Linked DNA regions of Homo sapiens: regions 1 and 2 are each linked to region 3. Evidence: promoter capture Hi-C in 16 types of primary human blood cells and fetal thymus (Javierre and others, 2016). All regions are on one chromosome and are shown on one strand. The core of a region is centred on a gene start or on the middle of the fragment in contact, and the rest is flanking DNA. Distances in the headings are between cores, read along the strand shown.

The links. The method cuts DNA at HindIII sites, captures the fragments that hold promoters and counts their contacts. A CHiCAGO score of 5 or more calls a contact.
Region 1: a contact is called between a fragment that was not itself captured here and the fragment with the promoter of MCM10 in region 3, in 1 of 17 cell types (fetal thymus). The highest score is 5.5, in fetal thymus.
Region 2: a fragment that was not itself captured here is called in contact with the fragment with the promoter of MCM10 in region 3 in 1 of 17 cell types (naive CD8 T cells); the score reaches 5.0 in naive CD8 T cells.

The regions. Positions count from the first base shown.
Region 1 is chr10:13,591,037-13,593,736 of GRCh38, reverse strand. All of the region lies in intron 1 of PRPF18 (pre-mRNA processing factor 18), which reads right to left. It also overlaps the pseudogene RPL6P24. Among named protein-coding and RNA genes, the nearest start is that of PRPF18, 5.4 kb to the right of the region's middle. The HindIII fragment of the contact is 4,940 bases long and covers 1-2,700 here.
Region 2 is chr10:13,446,591-13,449,290 of GRCh38, reverse strand. It overlaps BEND7 (BEN domain containing 7), which reads left to right. Exons shown (of 9, transcript NM_001369863.1): 8 at 1,975-2,025. Among named protein-coding and RNA genes, the nearest start is that of BEND7-DT, 81 kb to the left of the region's middle. The HindIII fragment of the contact is 9,385 bases long and covers 1-2,700 here.
Region 3 is chr10:13,160,241-13,162,940 of GRCh38, reverse strand. It overlaps MCM10 (minichromosome maintenance 10 replication initiation factor), which reads right to left and starts at 1,383. Exons shown (of 20, transcript NM_018518.5): 1 at 1,335-1,383. RefSeq lists silencers at 1,119-1,298, 1,321-1,634. The HindIII fragment of the contact is 4,789 bases long and covers 667-2,700 here.

The sequences.
Region 1 (2,700 bases), core at 147-2,646, 430 kb before region 3:
TTCACAGTGAAACAGAGAACCCTCCTCTGTCTGTCTAGGGCAAATCCCTTGCCAATTACTCCAGACCTCAATTCCTCAGGGACTTCTCACCATCAATGCTGTTTTCTCCTTCGCATATTCATCCTTCCCCTCTCTACTGGCTCTTGACAATTATAATTTAAGTATGCTCAAGACTCTGCCCTGGGTATCATTTACAGCAGAACCACATTAAACTGTTTAATCTAATCCGTGTCCACTTCCTTACCCCCAATTCTCTTTGCAGCCCCACAGCATGTGGACATCCATTCTGTTTCACTGAAAAAACCTCCTTGGGGTCATAAATAATGTCTAAGATACAAATCCAAAGAGACTTCTCTGACTGATCTCATCCAGTCTTCGATTTAACTGCTCATTCCTTCCTTCCTTCAGTAACTTTCTCCTCTTAGCTGACAGATTCTTCTTATGTCTTCCTCACTTACTGGTTTGCTTAGATTTTCTATTTCTTGTATTTTTTTGTACTTTTTAGCCATTTACTTCACTTAGATTTTCCAATGTATTAGAACTAGTATACAGTTTTCCTTACTAATTTTATTTTCCAATGTCTCCCATGTTGGTTCCTGCCATTCCTTCCATTGGTCCTTCATTTCAGAATGTTTTGTATAATGTGGGGTAGGGGTTGTTGCTTATTATTTCCGTATGGATATCCAGTTGTTCAGCATCATTTACTGAAAATATCTTTCCTTCCATTTGGTTTTAGTGTATTTGTCAAAAATCAATAATTGTGTAAGGGTGGCTCCGTTCTGGGTGCTCTGTTATACTCTAGTGGTGTTAGCTGTTGCTCTTTATGCCAGCGCTATGCTGTTTTGATTATTGTAGCATTGTTACTGCAGCACAGCATAGTATCTTGCATATAGGAAAGATGCAGTAAATACTGGAAGGAAAAAAAGCTAAAATTCTGCACATAGCTCATCCTCATAACTACAACTAGTAAAACTACTAATTACTCCCCATTGAGTTTCTAGAGCAGCCTGGTTTTCCACACGAGGTTTTGCATTAAATGAAAACTCACCAATTCTAGGCTCCAAAACACTGGTGTTCTAGCAATGCAGACACATTTACCTCAGGGTGGTTACACCAGGCAGGGCACTTTAGGACAGGTGGTAAGAGGATATCTTAGTCACTTCTCTGCAATTTGAGAAAGAGGCACTCACAAGCTAAGTACTGATTATTTCAACTATCACAGATTAACCACAAAAAGCTGGGACACCACTTGAAATGACCAAAGATGAGGTGGCTCTTCTTTCTGCAAGAGCAACACCACACAGACAACTGTTTTCCAGCTACAGATGCGGTAATGACAACAATCTACTGATCCCTGACCCGTGTTTTCTAAAAAATTAAAACAAAGGGACTTGCTCTTCCCCATCTTGTAAGATGGTGGGTGAAAAAGTTGAGAAGCCGGATACTAAAGAGAAGAAACCCAAAGCCAAGAAGGCTGAGGCTGGTGACAAGGTGAAAAAGGGTCACCTCAAGGCTAAGAAGCCCAAGAAGGGGAAGCCCCATTGCAGCACAACCCTGTCCTTGTCAGAGGAATTGGCAGGTATTCCCGATGTGCTATGTATTCCAGAAAAGCTGTGTATAAGAGGAAGTACTCAGCCGCTAAGTACGAGGTTGAAAAGAAAAAGAAGGTTCTTGCAACTGTTACAAAACCAGTTGGTGGTGACAAGAATGGTAGTACCCAGGTGGTTAAACTTCATAAAATGCCTAGATATTTTCCTACTGAAGATGTGCCTCAAAAGCTGTTGAGCCATGGCAAAAAAAAAAAAAAACCCTCAGTTGACACGTGAGAAAACTGCGAACCAGCATTACCCCGGGGAACGTTCTGATCATCCTCACTGGATTCCACAGAGGCAAGAGGGCGGTCTTCCTGAAGCACCTGGCTAGTGGCTTGTTACTTGTGACTGGACCTCTGGTCCTCAATCGAGTTCCTCTATGAAGAAAACACCAGAAATCTGTCATTGCCACCTCAACCAAAATTGTTATCAGCGATGTAAAAATCCCAAAACATCCCACTGATGCTTATTCAAGCAGCAGCAGCTGCAGAAGCCCAGACACCAGGAAGCTGAGATCTTCAGCACAGAAAAAGATAAATACAAGATTACAGAGCAGCACAAGATTGATCAGAAAGCTGTGGAGTCACAAATTTTACCAAAAATCAAAGCTATTCCTAAGCTCCAGGACTACCTGCGATCTGTGTTTGCCCCGACTCATGGAATTTATCCTCACAAATTGGTGTTCTACATTTCTTAAGAAGAACCTAATTAAATAACTGATAACAAAAAAGGAGGACTGAATAAAACATGATAAAATCATTTGTGGTTGTAAGAATTATTTCATAAAACTTTTTTCACATACATATCAGATCAATATATAAAAATGTATTGCTATGAACGGGGCAGTGAAAAAGTCTGTAAGTTACTGACAGACACTGTGATGCAGAAAGATGAAAAATATAAAGCAACTATTCTGCATGAAATGATAGAGCTGCAGATCTAAAGACTGTCTTCCCATGGATACAACAGAAAAGACGCCTAGTTGTGTATGTTCCCTTACATCATGCAAGAGCACTCACCCTCAAGTTGGTCTAAGACTTGAGATCTATCCCGGCTGGCCACAGGAATATGAGAACATCGTGTAACCCTCTAAGCCTCAATTTCATCA
Region 2 (2,700 bases), core at 119-2,618, 290 kb before region 3:
GCAGTGAGAGAACTACCATGAAGACCATCTGTCCCCAACTCACTCAAACCAATTAGAAGAAAATAATGTCTTCTAAATATAAACATAACATATGTTCATTATTTTTCATATATAAAATAATTTCTAAAAGCCATAGAACAAAATTTAAAATACCTAAAGCCTTTCATCCAGAGGGAAACACAGTTAACATTTCAGTATGTGCCATATTTTTTCTATAAACCTGTTTCCAGAATCTTAATCACACCATTTATCCCATGGTTTGAATATTTTTATGTTGTTAAATATTCATCTACAACATCTTTTTTTTTTTTTTTTTTTGAGATGGAGTCTCGCTCTGTCGCCCAGGCTGGAGTGCAGTGGCGCGATCTCGGCTCACCAAGCTCCGCCTCCCGGGTTCACACCATTCTCCTGCCTCAGCCTCCCGAGTAGCTGGGACTACAGGCGCCTGCCACCTCTCTTGGCTAATTTTCTGTATTTTTAGTAGAGACGGGGTTTTACTGTGTTAGCCAGGATGGTCTCGATCTCCTGACCTCGTGATCCACCCGCCTCGGCCTCCCAAATACAACATCATTTTTAGCAGTTGCTAATCTAATCCAACCTAGGTTGGTCTTGCATATTTCATCCCTTCTCAGTGATTTCTCTTTGTGGTGGATCTAGCAGGTCAGCAGACAAGGGGTCTTTCATTAATGCCAGTGAGCGTCCATCTGAGGACAAGATGTTGGAGGATGAAGGAGACAGGGGAGCCATACAATATTTCTAGCCGTAGCTAAGCCCTGATTATGTTTAAAGCAACAATAAAAACAAGTACGTAGCACTAGTTTAGGCTGCTTCTGACTCAGTGTTACAACATGGTGCCAAGGCTGACCTCATTCAACAGCCTCACAAGGGCTGCCCACGCACATTATGCAGTCAGCAGGGGCCTGCCTGTGGGGACCACAGGCCCTGAGCCATGGAGGCCACCACCGAAACTATCCCAGGGGCCATAATGTGATGTTTTCCCATCCCCACATGTTACGGGAAACTAACAAGCCCATCCCTTGTCAAGAGACACACGTGCACCTTTTTTTTCGCATGTAACAGAAGGTTTTTTGTGACTGAAGGATCTACCTTTGGAAAACTCCCAAGGAGATGGATACATTTATCAGACACGAGCGAAGGTTTGCATTTTAAAACTTAGAAATGGAGAATCTTTTGAAGCAACGCCTATTCCTTCTTCATGACCACGTTAATGCCAGAGTTAGATTGGCAGTTCTAGGATCTGAATCAGCCATCTCCAAAGAAAGGTTCATTCTCAAGATTTCCTAAGCTGCCCCCCAGGAGTGGTTCCGGCGATGCCAAGTGCAAATTCTACAGCAGGAATTCATTGACACATCCCCGCGATGACCCTATTTAAACAATTCACCCCACATGCTGGTTCGATATTCAAGCCTATGTAAATAAGTGAAAATAAACAGAAATCATCAGTGATCAATAGAATGAGGTTCATAAGATTTTAAAAAGTTTTAATATCATGAGGTCAGGAGAGCGAGACCATCCTGGCTAACACAGTGAAACCCCGCCTCTACTAAAAATACAAAAAATTAGCCAGGCGTGGTGGCGGGCGCCTGTAGTCCCAGCTACTCGGGAGGCTGAGGCAGGAGAATGGCGTGAACCCGGGAGGCGGAGCTTGTAGTGAGCCGAGATCGCGCCACTGCACTCCAGCCTGGGCGACAGAGCGAGACTCCGTCTCAAAAAAAAAAAAAAAAAAAAAAAAAGTTTTAATACGGGAAAGTTGATTTTATATCACCATCATCAAAAAATATTCAAATAATGATATTAACATCTGTAATATGAACCAACGGTAGCTGAAAACAGAAAAGAATGGTGAAAACAGTTATGTATACTGGAGTTTTTAAAATTACATCACTATTTTCTGTAAAATGAATGTGCTCCCTGGAACTAATGAGATTTGTGTCTTATGTTTGTAACCAGCAGAGATCGCGGACAGTGATGAAAGACTGGACGGCATTGCTCTACCACCAACAGGTAAATAAAACGCATTTACATTTTCATCACCTCCTGGAAAATACAGCCCACAAAACTATTTGCATTGAAAACGATTTTAACATTAGACATGCAGACACTTGAGCAAACTGCTTCTGCAGTGGACCAGGCCCCGTCATTGGAGCTTCTCAAGGCCCCGTACTCAGAGATGTTTTTCATACTGAATAGAAAAACGTTTTTCTCACACTCTTATTTTCATAAAAATCTCAGAAGAGCAAATCCTAAGAACTAAGTATCATAACATTTTGCCTCCCCAAACCTTTGGACATTACAAAATATTTTTAACGTGAAATGAGATTTCACCTTAAAACGGGGACCACTAATTTTGTGTGATCAAATTCATGGCTAGGCTGTCCTCTCCCACCTCCTCCAAACGGCCTTGGAGCCTTGAGCAGTCAATCAGTGGACACCCAGTGAATACTATGTTTTAACTGAGCGATTTGAACAAGGCCAGCCATCCGGCGTGAGTGGCACATTCCTAATACCAGGACCAGATCAGCTGAAGATACCCTTCCATGGAAGCATTTGCTGCACGCTGTTGTGTTAAGCCATAGACATAATTCCAACTTCATGTTATTTGACTCTCAAGTAATGCTTCTGACCCTGGCTTCCTACCTGTGTATGGGTTCATATCTGAGAGCCAGAGGGGCAGGTGTC
Region 3 (2,700 bases), core at 134-2,633:
CGCCCGGCTAATTTTTTGTATTTTTAGTAGAGATGGGGTTTCACCGTATTAGCCAGGATGGTCTCGATCTCCTGACCTGGTGATCCGTCCGCCTTGGCCTCCCAAAGCGCTGGGATTACAGGCGTGAGCCACCGCGCCTGGCCGCTTTTTAAAAATTCATTCAACCAACATTTCCACGGATCCCTCATGTGCCACACACTGTGCTATCTACTGGGGAACCTATTGGACAGTAAGCTTCCTGAGCGTTAGGAGCAAACTGTCTCGTTCAAGTCTGTAACCGGCCTTGCCTTCCCCCAAAATGAAACTGTGCACCCTCCCTCGCCCTCAAATCCACGGCCACTGACAAGTACTGTGGTCCCATCTCCAAAACACTGCTCAAATCTGCCACTTCTCTCCAACTTCACTGCCAGAACCCTAGGCCAAGCCACCGTCAACCTTTAACCCAATGACTGTGTTAGCTTTCTATGTTGGTCTCTTTGTCCCCGTGCAATCTGTTCTGCATACGACAGCCACGGTAATCTTCCCTTTCCTTAGTAACCTTTAGGAACATAAATCAGATCATGGGGGTCCCTTCATTGAAATTCTTTAATGATTTTCCATTGCCCTTAGAAAAAATCTACAAAGCCTGCGAGGCAATGATTCATATTCTCTCTCTCTTTCCAAGCTTTCTACTCCCTCACATTTTCCACAATCCACCACGTCCAATTCTACCCACCCCGACACCCATAACGATGCTCCAGCCGGGCCAGCCCGCTTCCACCTTCTGGAACACACTAAGCTGCTTTGAGGTCTCAGGCTCTGTCGAAGAAAGCTCCCCCCAGGTCCTTCTCGCCCTTCGGTCTCCACTTACTCATCTTTCTGAGACTTTCTGGACCACCCTGAGTCGTCCACTGTCGTGCATTTGTTTACTACCTGCTCGTGCCTTTAAACTGTAAGCGCTGTGAAGGCAGCGGAAATGTGATCCGAGCCATGCACACCGTCCGCATTCAATAATCATTGGCAAATCATGAATACGAGAAACCAATGAATGAATGAATGAATGAATGAATAAAAGAAAGCCCAGGCGGCAGGCACTTGGCAAGCACTTAAAAGGCTGCGTTTAAAAGGAAGAACCCGATTCCTTAGTAGACGGCCAGCAACTCCCAGCCCCCGGCCCGGCCATGCCAGCTCCGAGCGGTCCCAAGCTGCCGCCAAATCCAGATCGCGCCCACCCGAGCTCCCGGGACCCCGCGCCTCTAGCCTCGGACCCCTTGCAACCCGCGCAGAGACGTGCGAGGCGGCCCCGGCCCCGCCGCCCGAGGGTCACACGCACGCCCGGGGCCCGCGCTCCTCACCCGATGCCGGGACGCCTTCTTCGTTCACAGCTGAACCCGCCAAAATTCCAACCGGATCCCGCCCCTGCCTTGACGTCAGACGCACGCGGCTGTGGGGCAGCACTGACTGGCTACGCCAGCGAATCCCGGCCCTGGCACAGAGCAATCGGATTGGTTTACGTCATTGGACGCCCTCTTTGTTGGGGGCAAGGGACCTTCCTGTCGGTAGAAGCCAGTCTCCTTTAGGTAAAATAGAGTGTCTGGCGCCCCCTGGTGCCGGGAAGTTTAAGTCATCCCACCCAGTATTTTCCCTGCGGTCCCATCCCACCTCAACTCCTGACGCTCTGGGACCGACTGTTCCTTTGTCAGCCTTATGTCCATTCGAAATGTTTGGGCTCAGGACCAAACAGATCCGGTCCACTTTTACCCTGTCTGACCTTGGGGAAGTGACTTATCTCTCTGAGTTTCCCCTTCACCATCTGTGCAGTGAGGGAAAGGGTAGATGACATCTTTTACACTGAAACCACCATTTCCCGAGTAATTCCTGTTCCATAGATTTTGGGACTTCTAAGGGGCGTCAGGGCTGAAGAGAACTTATCAGCAGACCATATCTTTCACAGATTTTTTTTTCAGTAAAATTCAGGCCTCTTTATGTATTTACATTCTAAAAAATAGTGTTTGTACATAATACTAAGAACATAGTTTCTAAATGCAGAATAACATTTAGCTTTTACATAATTTCAAGGGATTGATAGCAGAAGAGACTTTGATGGACCAAATGGCCACTTTAAGTCTTTCCCCCCTTTTCCTCCTTGCAGACACTGTTCAGGCACTGCAGTTCCCCCACTAATAATCCCTTTGGTATAAGATCCTATCTCTATCCACTACGTACTTTCATTTTCAGAACAATTAAAATCGACTTTAGGAAGACTGAAGATAAACAGTCCTGATGCCATCTACGTTGACTTTTTTCTGTGTCCTAATGGAATATTACTGCTCCATTTATGAGCTCAGCCCTATTACTTAAACCTATATTGGCTCAGGAATAGGAATACAACCATTTCTGAGAGCTGCTAGTGTTAAAAATTCATAGTAATGGAGGAACTCTAGTAATCAAATTGAAAAAGTATGTTTAAATGCGTACTTTTAAACATACGGCACTAAGGCCGGGCACGGTGGCTCACCCCTGTAATCCCAGCACTTTGGGAGGCCGAGGTGGGTGGATCACGAGGTTAGGAGTTCGAGACCAGCCTGGCCAACATGGTGAAACCCCATCTCTACTAAAAACACACACAACACAAAAATTAGCTGGGCGTAGTGGTGCGCGTCTGTAATCCCAGCTACTTGGGAGGCTGAGGCGGAGAATCGCTTGAACCTGGGAGGTGGC